Linked DNA regions of Homo sapiens: regions 2 and 3 are each linked to region 1. The links are contacts of gene promoters, found by promoter capture Hi-C in human tissues and cell types (Jung and others, 2019). All regions are on one chromosome and are shown on one strand. Each heading gives the region's core, a stretch centred on a gene start or on the middle of the fragment in contact. The rest is flanking DNA. Distances are from core to core; before and after follow the strand shown.

Region 1 (3,466 bases), core at 263-2,762:
GTGTGTGTGGCTGTGTATGATTGTGTGTGGCTGAGTGCATGGCTTTTGTGAGCAGGCAGTGTGTGTGTGATCCTGTCTGCTGTCTGCCTGAAAAGATGAGACTGTCTCCTATATCTGTGGCATGAGACTGCACAGATATGAAGGACAGCCCGTGCAGTCCCAAGCTAAGTGAATTACATCTCTCTCTCTCTATATATATATCCATCTATCTGTCTGTCTGTCTGTCTCTGTCTATCCATCCATCCATCCATCCACCCACCCACCCACCTATCCATCCACCCACCCACCTATCTATCTATCTATCTATCTATCTATCTATCTATCTATCTATCTATCTATCTATTTTTTTGAGATGGAGTTTTGCTTTGTCACCCAGGCTGGAGTACAGTGGCACGATCTTGGCTCACTGCAACCTCCACCCCACAGGTTCAAGCGATTCTCCTGCCTCAGCCTCCCTGTAGCTGGGATTACAGGTGCCCGCCACCACGCCCAGCTAATTTTCATATTTTTAGTAGAGACAGGGTTTCACATACTGGCCAGGCTGTTCTCAAACTCCTGACCTCAGGTGATCTGCCCGCCTCAGCCTCCCAAATTGCTGGGATTACAGGCTTGAGTCACTGCATCTAGCCATGCCATCTATATTTTCTTGTATAGATGTGAGTGTGTGTGCCCGAGCAAGTGAATGACATCTATATTTTCCTGTACAGCTGTGAGTGTCACTGGGTAACCGCGTGGGATCCTTGTGGGCTGGCTGTGTGTCTCTGTGTGTGAGACCCCATAGAACCCTCGTGGCTGGTCCCACATGTCTCATCAGAGAAAGGAGGGCAGGATACCTAGGTACTTACTGTAAGCCCTGCAATCTCTGCTTTCCTCCTCTGCCCCCATATCAAGCAGAAGAGGCAGCCTTGGGCTCAAGGAGAGAGACAGGGAGATCTAGAGGGAGATCAGCTGCACACACACTGTCCCGCCCAGTTGCACACACAGTCCCCACCATGGGTACCCCAGCACTTCACCCTCACGCCGACACAAGTCACACACGATCACCCACTCATACCAACACCCAGCCTCCCCTCTGCCCTGATCATCCGCCCTGTGGACCCCCTGAAGCCATCACTCAGACATACCAAGGACAAAGCTCAGAGGGGTACATGCATTCACAGAGCTATAGACATAATCACAGGAGCTGGATAGAGAGAGAGAGAGAGAGAGAGAGGAGGGGACCGAGAGTGGCCTGTCCCAGAGTGAAGGTCATAGCGGAGGCCCATGGAGTATCTGATTCCAGCCACCTGCCCTGGCAGGTCACTGCACCTCCCGGGCCTGCTCCAGCCCCAGCTCCCCTCTGCCCCGGCTCAGGCCTGGCCCGGGAATCTTGTACCAGAGAATGAGGGATGGGGTGGCTCTTACTCAGCTCTGGATTCCATGGTCCCTGCAGGGCCAGCCCAGCGGGGCCCTCTCCCCAGGGGTCCTGGGGGCCTGTGTATGCTGGGCCCCAAGCCGGCTCAGCTTCCTGTGTGGCTGAGAGAGGAAGTTTAACGGGTGACGTCCCCGGACAGAGGCCCTGCCCCCACCCCCGTGAGAAACCCAGGCATCCTGCCTGCTAATTATGTTGGGGATGGGTGGGCAATAAGTGGTCAGCCTGGGAAGGCAGACCCCCAGCTCCGTCCCCGCCAGGCTGGACTGTGTCTGGTTCCCCCCATCGTGCCTGGGCCCTCATCTCTCCTTCCCCGCTCCGCAGCAGCCAAGATTCACAGTCTGTCTATTAATGAAATGCCTCCCCGTCTCTTTCCCTTGGTCCATTTGGCCTGGACGGTCACTGGTGGACCACCAGAGGGAGCCACCTGTAAAGTGGACGGTGGGGGGGCCAGGGATGGGGACAAAGAGCACGAAGTACAGGCACAGGGACGGACAGACAGACACAGACACAGACAGTTACACGCTCAGGAAGTCATCAGCACAGACAAACCGAGTGCAGAAGAGCCAGAGACGACAGACATGGAGAGATAGGGAGTCCTACAGCTGGATCATAGTCCCAGGCCGGGCACAGTGGCTCACGCCTATAATCCCAGCACTTTGAGAGGCCAAGGTGGGAGGACCGCTTGAGCCCAGGAGTTCGAGACCAGCCTGGGAAACATGGCGAAACCCTGTGTCTATAAAAGCTACAAAAATTATAGCTGGCGGTGGTGGCACGCACCTATAGTCCCAGCTTACCCAGGAGGCTGAGTCAGGAGGATCGCCTGAGCCTGGGGAGTTTGAGGCCATAGTGAACCAAGATTGCACTACTGTACTCCAGCCTGAGCAACAAAGTGAGATCCTGTCTCAAAAAAAAAAAAAAACAACTTAGTCACAGTTACACACCCATTGTGCGCAGAAAGACAAGGTAAGCGGATCACTTGAGGTCAGGAGTTTGCAACCAGCCTGGCCAACATGGTGAAACCCTGTCTCTAATTAAAAAAAAATACAGGCCAGGTGCGGTGGCTCACATCTGTAATCCCAGCACTTTGGGAGGCTGAGGCAGGTGGATCACGAGGTCAGGAGTTCGAGACCAGCCTGGCCAAGATGGTGAAACCCAGTCTCTACTAAAAATACAAAGATTAGCCAGGCACGGTGGTGGGCATCTGTAATCCCAGTTACTCAGGAGGCTGAGGCAGAATTATTTGAACCTGGGAGGCGGAGTTTGCAGTGAGCCGATATCGCGCCGCTGTACTCTAGCCTGGGCGACAGAGCAGGACTCTGTCTCAAAAAATCAAAAACAAACAAACAAACAAAAAATTAGCTGGGCATGGTGGCATGTGCCTGTAATCCCAGCTGCTTGGGAGGCTGAAGCAGGAGAATCACTTGAATCCGGGAGGCAGAGGTTGCAGTGAGCCGAGATCGTGCCACTGCACTCCAGCCTGGGTGAAAGAGTGAGACTCCATCTCAAAAACAAAAACAAAAACAAAGCAAACAAACAAACAAACAAATGCAGAGACAGACAGAGACACAATAAACAGTTACACAGAGACCACAGCCATTGATACAAACAGAATAACAGAGAAATAGACCCAGATAGATGGAAACACAGCACAGACATAGCTCAAGTAATAACCAGATATAGTTATAGCCAAGACCCGGCCACATGCAGAGAGAGACACAGCTGGACTCACATGACAGCCAGATACTCATGACAGCCCGACACACTCAAGCCGTGCTGCAGACTATGAAAGACACAGGGGCTGGAGGCAGTGGCTCAGTAATCCCAGCACCTTGGGAGGCTGAGGTAGGATTGTTTGAGGCCAGGAGTTAAAGATCAGCCTGAGCAATATAACAAGACCCCATCTTTACAAAAATTAAAACTTTAGCCAGGTGCAGTAGTCCCAGCTATTCTGTAGGCTGAGGCGGGAGGATCCCTTGAGCCCAGGTGGTGGGGGTTGTAGTGAGCTGTGATCGTGCCATTGCACTCCAGCCTGGGCAACGGTGTAAGACCCTA
Region 2 (3,466 bases), core at 475-2,974, 640 kb before region 1:
TTCCTTTGTGCTGTCGGGCTCTTGGGCTGCCAGTGAAAGGTTAATGTTTAGAGATACATTTAATATTAATATATTATCATGTGGCCCCTGGGTTTATGGCGACCTCTTCCTAGGAGACAGTGAAGTCTTTGCCGGTGACCTTCAGGAGGGGAGATTGGGGGAAACGGGGAACGGGAGTCCAGGAGAGAGATCTCACCCAAGGTACTTTCCCTGGAAAATGATCGATCCACGCCACAAAGATCAGGATGCAAAAAAACAAAGCCAGAAAGCAAACCGCATTCTAAGCCCTCTTTTACCACCGGGAGTGGCAGAGGCAGAGAAAATCCGGGGCCAGGAAGGATGAAGGGGTGTAGGCTGCTGATGGGGTCGGGGGGCACGGGATTCTACCGCAGAGCTCTGCAAGAGAGACAGACAGACACCCACTTCCTCCTGGTTTGGCAAATCAGCCAGACCTCCCATATCCTCAGCCCACCTCGGTGCATCCAGAAAGACCCCTGCCTGCGACTAGGGGCTGCTGGCCAAATGCCAGGCCACTGCACAGCCTGCAGACCCTCCCCCAGGGATCTTGTGCCAGCCCACCCGCACTCTGAATTACAGCAGACAGGACTGAGGCTGAGGGGAGGAGGCTCGGAGCCAGGAGGCCTTTCCCTGGACCCATGCGATCCGGGTTGGGGGTGAAAGTGGGACAAGAGGCCTTACCTGGGGGGGCCAGTGTGCAGAGGGCCCTAGAGCTGAGAGGCCGCGGACGGAGTAACAGCTGGATTCTGAGGACGTGGAAGAGGCCACACCACGCAGCAGAAGGAAGGAGGAAGTGTACCCGGAGCTGAAACCAGGCCCTTTCCAACCACCACACCTGTCATCAGGTGACCCAGGGCATCCTGTCCTGGAGCCCGGACATCCTTTGAAAACAAATCGTGGGGCTCCCCTAATCCCCGTTGCAGAACCAAACAGGGTGAAGGGATTTGGAGACTCAGGTCATGCATGACCTTGCCCCACCTGTGGCTTCAATGCGATGTGGCTTTGAGTACAAAGTGAAAAGGCTGACCTGAACCACCGGTTCCCAAAGCGGGTTCCACAGGGACACCAGGGGTTCCTTGGGAGGTGGGAATGAGGAAGTGAGCAGAATTTCTACCTTTCCGCTTTCCTTCCCACCAGATCCCACCTTCTCACTCAGTTGGCCCATCACCAAATATTTCCTGAGCACTAAGTGCCAGGCCAAGGGATCTTGCAGGAAACCGGTGGGCAAGTCAGGCAACTCATGAACCTTGGAAGGGAACTTTCTTCAATTAAAATTGCAGCCTTTTGAATAAAAAAGGGATGGAAGGGCATTCCAGTTACAAGGAACAACCTTCGCAAAGGCCCTGAGGCAGCAGAAATGCAGGCATGTTGAGGAACTGCAGGAGGAGTCTCAGCAGGCTGGGTCTTCACCACTGGAGAGGAGGCAGAGCTGTTGCAGAGGCTGGGCCACGGTCAGCCATAGGGTGTTCAGCACCAAGGCAATAGGGAGCCATGTGAGGCTTCAAGCAGAGGGGTTACCATGTCGATACATGTTTTCAGATGCTCTCTTCTGGTAGGCTGGGCACAGGTCCCATATTGGTGGCAGAAGCTTCCTCCGGTGGCCTCAACAAGCCCCTCTGTGTGCCTCAAAGCCACTTCCTTTCCCCACCCACTCCTGCAGGGCAGTGCAAAGCAGAAGTCCAGGGAGCTATGCAAACTTCCTGGAATGGAGAGAAATGATCTGGAATACTGGTTTTGAGGGAGGATGACCTTAAACTCTCTCACTCCCAAGCTGGGTGCAAAGGTGACCGAGCTCAAAGCCCAGCCTCCAAGTATCACGACTGCCCTGTTCTAGAAATCATTTCTGGGAGGCTGCATCATGCTGCCTGAGTTCTACTATCTCAGTGCCCAGCCACGCCCAGACCAGTGAGGTTCTGGGAGGTAGGGATGGGCCAGGGGGTTGGGGTCTCCCAGAGCTCCAGAAGTGGCAACCTAATTCCACTCATGTCTCATTCCTTGACTGGTGAGGTTGACTGTAACTTATTAAAAAAATGACTTCTGGGGGCCGGGCGTGGTGGCTCACGCCTGTAATCCCAACACTTTGGGAGGCCGAGGTGGGCAGATCACGAGATCAGAAGATCAAGACCATCCATCCTGACTAACATGGTGAAACCCTGTCTCTACTAAAAATACAAAAAAATTAGCCAGGCGTGGTAGTGGGTGCCTGTAGTCCCAGCTACTTGGGAGGCTGAGGCAGGAGAATGGTGTGAACCCGGGAGGCGGAGCTTGCAGTGAGCCTAGATTGAGCCACTGCACTCCAGCCTGGGCGACAGTGCAAGACTCTGTCTCAAAAAAAAAAAAAAAAAAAAAAAAGACTTCTGAGGCCATGCACAGTGACTCACACCTGTAATCCCAACAGTTTGGGAAGGAGAGGCAGGAAGATCGCTTGAGCCCAGGAGTCTGAGACCAGCCTAGGGAAAACAGAGATACCCCTATCTCTCTCTTTTTTTTGAGATGGAATCTTGCTCTGTCACTCGGGCTGGAGTGCAGTGGCACAGTCTCAGTTTACTGTAACCTATGCCTCCCGGGCTCAAGCGATTCTCATGCCCCAGCCTCCCGAGTAGCTGGGACTACAGGCGCGTGACACGGCACTGGGTAACTTTCGTATTTTTTTAATAGAGCTGGTTTTCGCCATGTTAGCCAGGCTGATCTTGACCTCCTGACTTCAGGTGATCTGTCTGCCTCAGCCTCCTAAAGTACTGGGATTAGAGGCCAGGCATGAGCCACTCCGCCCAGCTGGGTTTTTTTTCTTTTTTTTTTTTGAGACAGAGTCTCGCTCTGTGGCCCAGGCTGGAGTGCAGTGGCACGATCTCGGCTCATGGCAAGCTCTGCCTCCTGGGTTCACGCCATTCTCCTGCCCCAAGTAGCTGGGACTACAGGCGTCCGCCATCACGCCCAGCTAATTTTTTTTTTTTTTTTTGTATTTTTAGTAGAGACATGTTAGCCAGGATGGTCTCGATCTCCTGACCTTGTGATCCGCCCGCCTCGGCCTCCCAAAGTGCTGGGATTACAGGCGTGAGCCACCACGCCCCGCCCCCAGCTGGGTTGTTTCTTAAGGATTCAAAATCCAAAGGTAGGTCTCTAGTGAGGGACAGTAGGGCTCTAGTCATTCCATCGATGTGATCGCTGGGCAAAGGGAGGGTGGAGGACCTTGGGCTGACCTCAGGGATGGTGCCAGAGAGAACGTGTGCTCATCCTGAAACTGCTGTGTGACTTGAGAGGTTTCCTGGTCCTCTCTGAGCAGGGCTCACCATACCAGTGCCAGGTGGGACCTCCCTGCCAAGGAGCTGAGCCCAGAGCCCAGAGTAGGGTATCATGAGGACCTCTTCCCTCAGGCTCAGGGCAAGCTAGGACCTGCTTGAGGCTTGCAGGGGCAGTTAGGCCATCTGTGCACCTCGTTGGGGTCTTG
Region 3 (3,466 bases), core at 556-3,055, 610 kb after region 1:
GGGATCGACGGCAGCCTCAGTTGACAAGTTACATGTCAGCCTCATCTGTCCCCTCCGCTTCTCGCATGCCTTTAAAGATGTTGTTCCCAGGAGTTTTATCCAATAAACAAAAAATTGCCAGCACAAAATCTGTTCCCAGAAAACCTGATCCGAGATAAGATCACTCTATCAGGGTAAAGAATCCATTCAGGGCCGGTCTCAGGAGATCGAGACCATCCTGGCTAACACAGTGAAACCCTGTCTGTACTAAAAATACAAAAAATTAGCCGGGCGTGGTGGCGGGCGCCTGTAGTCCCAGCTACTCAGGAGGCTGAGGCAGGAGAATGGCGTGAACCCGGGAGGCAGAGCTTTCAGTGAGCCGAGATCGCGCCGCTGCACTCCAGCCTGGGCGACAGAGTGAGACTCCATCCCAAAAAAAAATAAAAATAAAAATCCATTCAGATAAGGGACTGGCAGAGAGAAAGCAGAATGTGGAATGGATGTGGAAGAATTAAATTCAGTCCTGAAGACCAGGTCCCAAAGCAGGAATAGAAGACAGCTATGCTTTGGGTTTGGGTTTTTTAAAAAATCTTTAATTTTTTCCGCTTTTTCCCTGGTTCCCCACCACCACCATCACCATTTTATATGAAGAGTCCTGGTTGTGGCCAAAGCTTAAGGTTTCTGATGGGAATACGACCAAATGACATTATCCCAACAGTAGCTTCCTTTGTATCTCTTTTTTTTTTTTTTTTTTTTTGAGATGGAGTCTCACTCTGTCACACAGGCTGGAGTGCAATGGTGCCATCTCTGCTCACTACAACCTCCGCCTCCTGGATTCAAGCGACTCTCCTGCTTCAGCCTCCCGAGTAGCTGGGACTACAGGCACACGCCAGCACACCCGGCTAATTTTTGTATTTTTAGTAGAGATGGGGTTTCACTATGTTGGCCAGGCTGGTCTTGAATTCTTGACCTTGTGATCCGCCCACCTCGGCCTCCCAAAGTGCTAGGATTACAGGCGGGAGCCACCGCGCCCGGCCCCCTTTGTATCTTATGTAGGGACATGAACTTAGCGCCAAGTGAAGGACAAGAATTGATATCCAAAATCCAATAGATTTTTCTTTTAAATACCTGAAAGTGAAACTGGCCCAATTTTCCCATATTGCTGATGTTTATGGTTTCCTTGAATAAACAAACAAATTGATCTTCCCAATCTTAAAACTTAAGAAAGTTACATTTATCTTATCTGAGTTCCTTTCTCAGGAAACCAACCATCAGGCCTCCCAGATAGTATCTAGGAGCTGAAACGCACCAGAATACTGCATTTGTACAGTGAGACATCAGACCCATCACCCATCATGATTGCCTAACTGACCACCTGCTTCCTGTTGACCAACTCCTCTTCCTTACCCTTCCCTAATTCCTGTATTCCCACACATGGTAACATTTCTTCCCTGCTATATAAACCTCAAATTTTAGTTGGTCAGGGAGATGGATTTGAGATTGTTCTCCCACCTCCTCAGCTGCAGCAGCTGATTAAAGCCTTCTTCCTTGGCAATACTCATTGTCTCAGCGATAGGCTTTCTGTGCAGTGGTGAGCAGCAGGACCTAGATTGAACCCCTGGTGTTTCAGCAACAACATAGTTCATCACCAGCAGAACTGCACTTCAAGAAACACTAAAGAAAGTTTTGGGCCAGACACGGTGGCTCACACCTGTAATCCCAGCATTTTGGGAGGCTGAGGCAGGTGGATCACCTGAGGTCAGGAGTTCGAGACAAGGCTGGCCAACATGGCAAAACCCCATCTCTGCTAAAACTACAAAAAAAAAAAAAAATTAGCTGGGCGTAGTGGCGGTCGCCTATAATCCCAGCTACTTGGGAGGCTGAGGCAGGAGAATTGCTTGAACCCAGGAGGTGGAGGTTGCAGTGAGCTGAGATCGCACCGTTGCTTTCCAGCCTGGGCGATGGAGCGAGACTCTGTCTCAAAAAAAAAAAAGAAGGAAGGAGGGAGGGAGGGAAGGAAGGAAGGAAGGAAGGAGAAGGAAAGAAAGAAGGAAAGTTTTGGGGCTGGAGGAAAATTATTCCATGTGGAAGCAATTCCAGAAATATATAAGGATAATCAGGAAAGATAAAATGTGAGCAAATACAAATAAATATTGACTGTATAAATCAAGCCTGTATAGTTTTAACACTTTTATACGTCTAAATCTTTTTTTTTTTTTCAGACGGAGTCTCACTCTGTTGCCCACACTCACCTCACTGCAACTTCCGCCTCCTGGGTTCAAGCAATTCTCTTGCCTCAGCCTCCAAGTAGCTGCAACTACAGGTGTGCACCACCACGCCCAGCTAATTTTTGTATTTTTAGTAGAGATGGGGTTTCGCCATGGTGACCAGGCTGGTCTCAAACTCCTGACCTCAAGTGATCCATCTGCCTTGGCCTCCCAAAAGTGTTAGGATTATAGGCGTGAGCCAACGTGCCCAGCCCTAATTTTTTTTTTTTTTCAAATAAAAAGAGTTTTAAATCACATTGAACTGGTCCCTTAAAACTAGAGATAATAGAAAGCATGGCAAGCCATTTCCCAGTCCCCCTAAGACTAGAGATTATGGAAGCCCCAGCAAGTGATTCTCACAATCTGCATACAGCAGTAGAGCTGACAGAAGCCCTAGCAGGTAACCACCAGTCACCCTCAAAACAAGAGGCAACAGGATGCCAGATCTCCACCCCTCAATCACTTACAAACACAAAAGATGGAGTCCAAACATGAAGACCTCCGTCATCGCGAAACTACTCCAGCAAGCACCCCTCAGTCACGTCCAAAACTATAACAGAAGTCCCTGAAATGACCCCTTCAGATGCCCCTCAACACTAAAGAATGGGGACTCCAAGCCCAATGGCCTACCCAGTCTATACCAACAGTACAGGCAAGCGGAGACCCAGAATATGACCCTCCCCAACTAGAGATAAGTGGAACCCCATCCAATAATCCCTCCATCCTCTCCCCAAACAATACACAGTAAGGCCTCTATCTGATAAATGCTCTTGACCCTTCAACACTAGAAAAAAATGGAAGCCCCAGGCACTGGCCCTCCAGTTACCTCCAACATCAGAGACAATGAAAGCTTCGCCAAGTGATTCCCCGTATCGCTCCTACATTAATGATGGAAACTCCAAAAACCAATCAACCCTCAATCCTCTACACACTCAAGAAAGGAACTCCAGGCTGGGTATGGTGGCTCACGCCTGTAATCCCAGCACTTTGGGAGGCCAAGGCGGGTGGATCACGAGATCAGGAGTTCGAGACCAGCCTGACCAATATGGTGAAACCGTCTCTACTAAAAATACAAAAATTAGCCGGGCGTGGTGACACGTGCCTGTAGTCCTAGCTACTCAGGAGACTGAGGCAGGAGAATCTCTTGAACCCGGGAGGCAGAGTTTGCAGTGAGCCAAGATCACACCACTGCGCTCAAGCCTGGGAGACAGAGCAAGATT

The links. Contacts are between HindIII fragments. The study calls those that stand out against the background at their distance.
Region 2: the fragment with the promoter of FUT6 here is called in contact with the fragment with the promoter of DENND1C in region 1 in 1 of the 25 tissues and cell types used here (aorta).
Region 3: a contact is called between a fragment that was not itself captured here and the fragment with the promoter of DENND1C in region 1, in 1 of the 25 tissues and cell types used here (dorsolateral prefrontal cortex).

What each region holds. Positions count from the first base shown.
Region 1 is chr19:6,480,275-6,483,740 of GRCh38, forward strand. DENND1C (DENN domain containing 1C) reads right to left here and starts at 1,513. Exons shown (of 23, transcript NM_024898.4): 1 at 1,405-1,513. The coding sequence starts at 1,421. RefSeq lists enhancers at 1-107, 1,704-1,998. The HindIII fragment of the contact is 27,793 bases long and covers 1-3,466 here.
Region 2 is chr19:5,837,978-5,841,443 of GRCh38, forward strand. FUT6 (fucosyltransferase 6) reads right to left here and starts at 1,725. Exons shown (of 3, transcript NM_000150.4): 1 at 700-1,725. The HindIII fragment of the contact is 16,612 bases long and covers 1-3,466 here.
Region 3 is chr19:7,093,704-7,097,169 of GRCh38, forward strand. All of the region lies in intron 1 of LOC124904625 (a long non-coding RNA gene), which reads right to left. Among named protein-coding and RNA genes, the nearest start is that of ZNF557, 26 kb to the left of the region's middle. The HindIII fragment of the contact is 4,002 bases long and covers 1-3,466 here.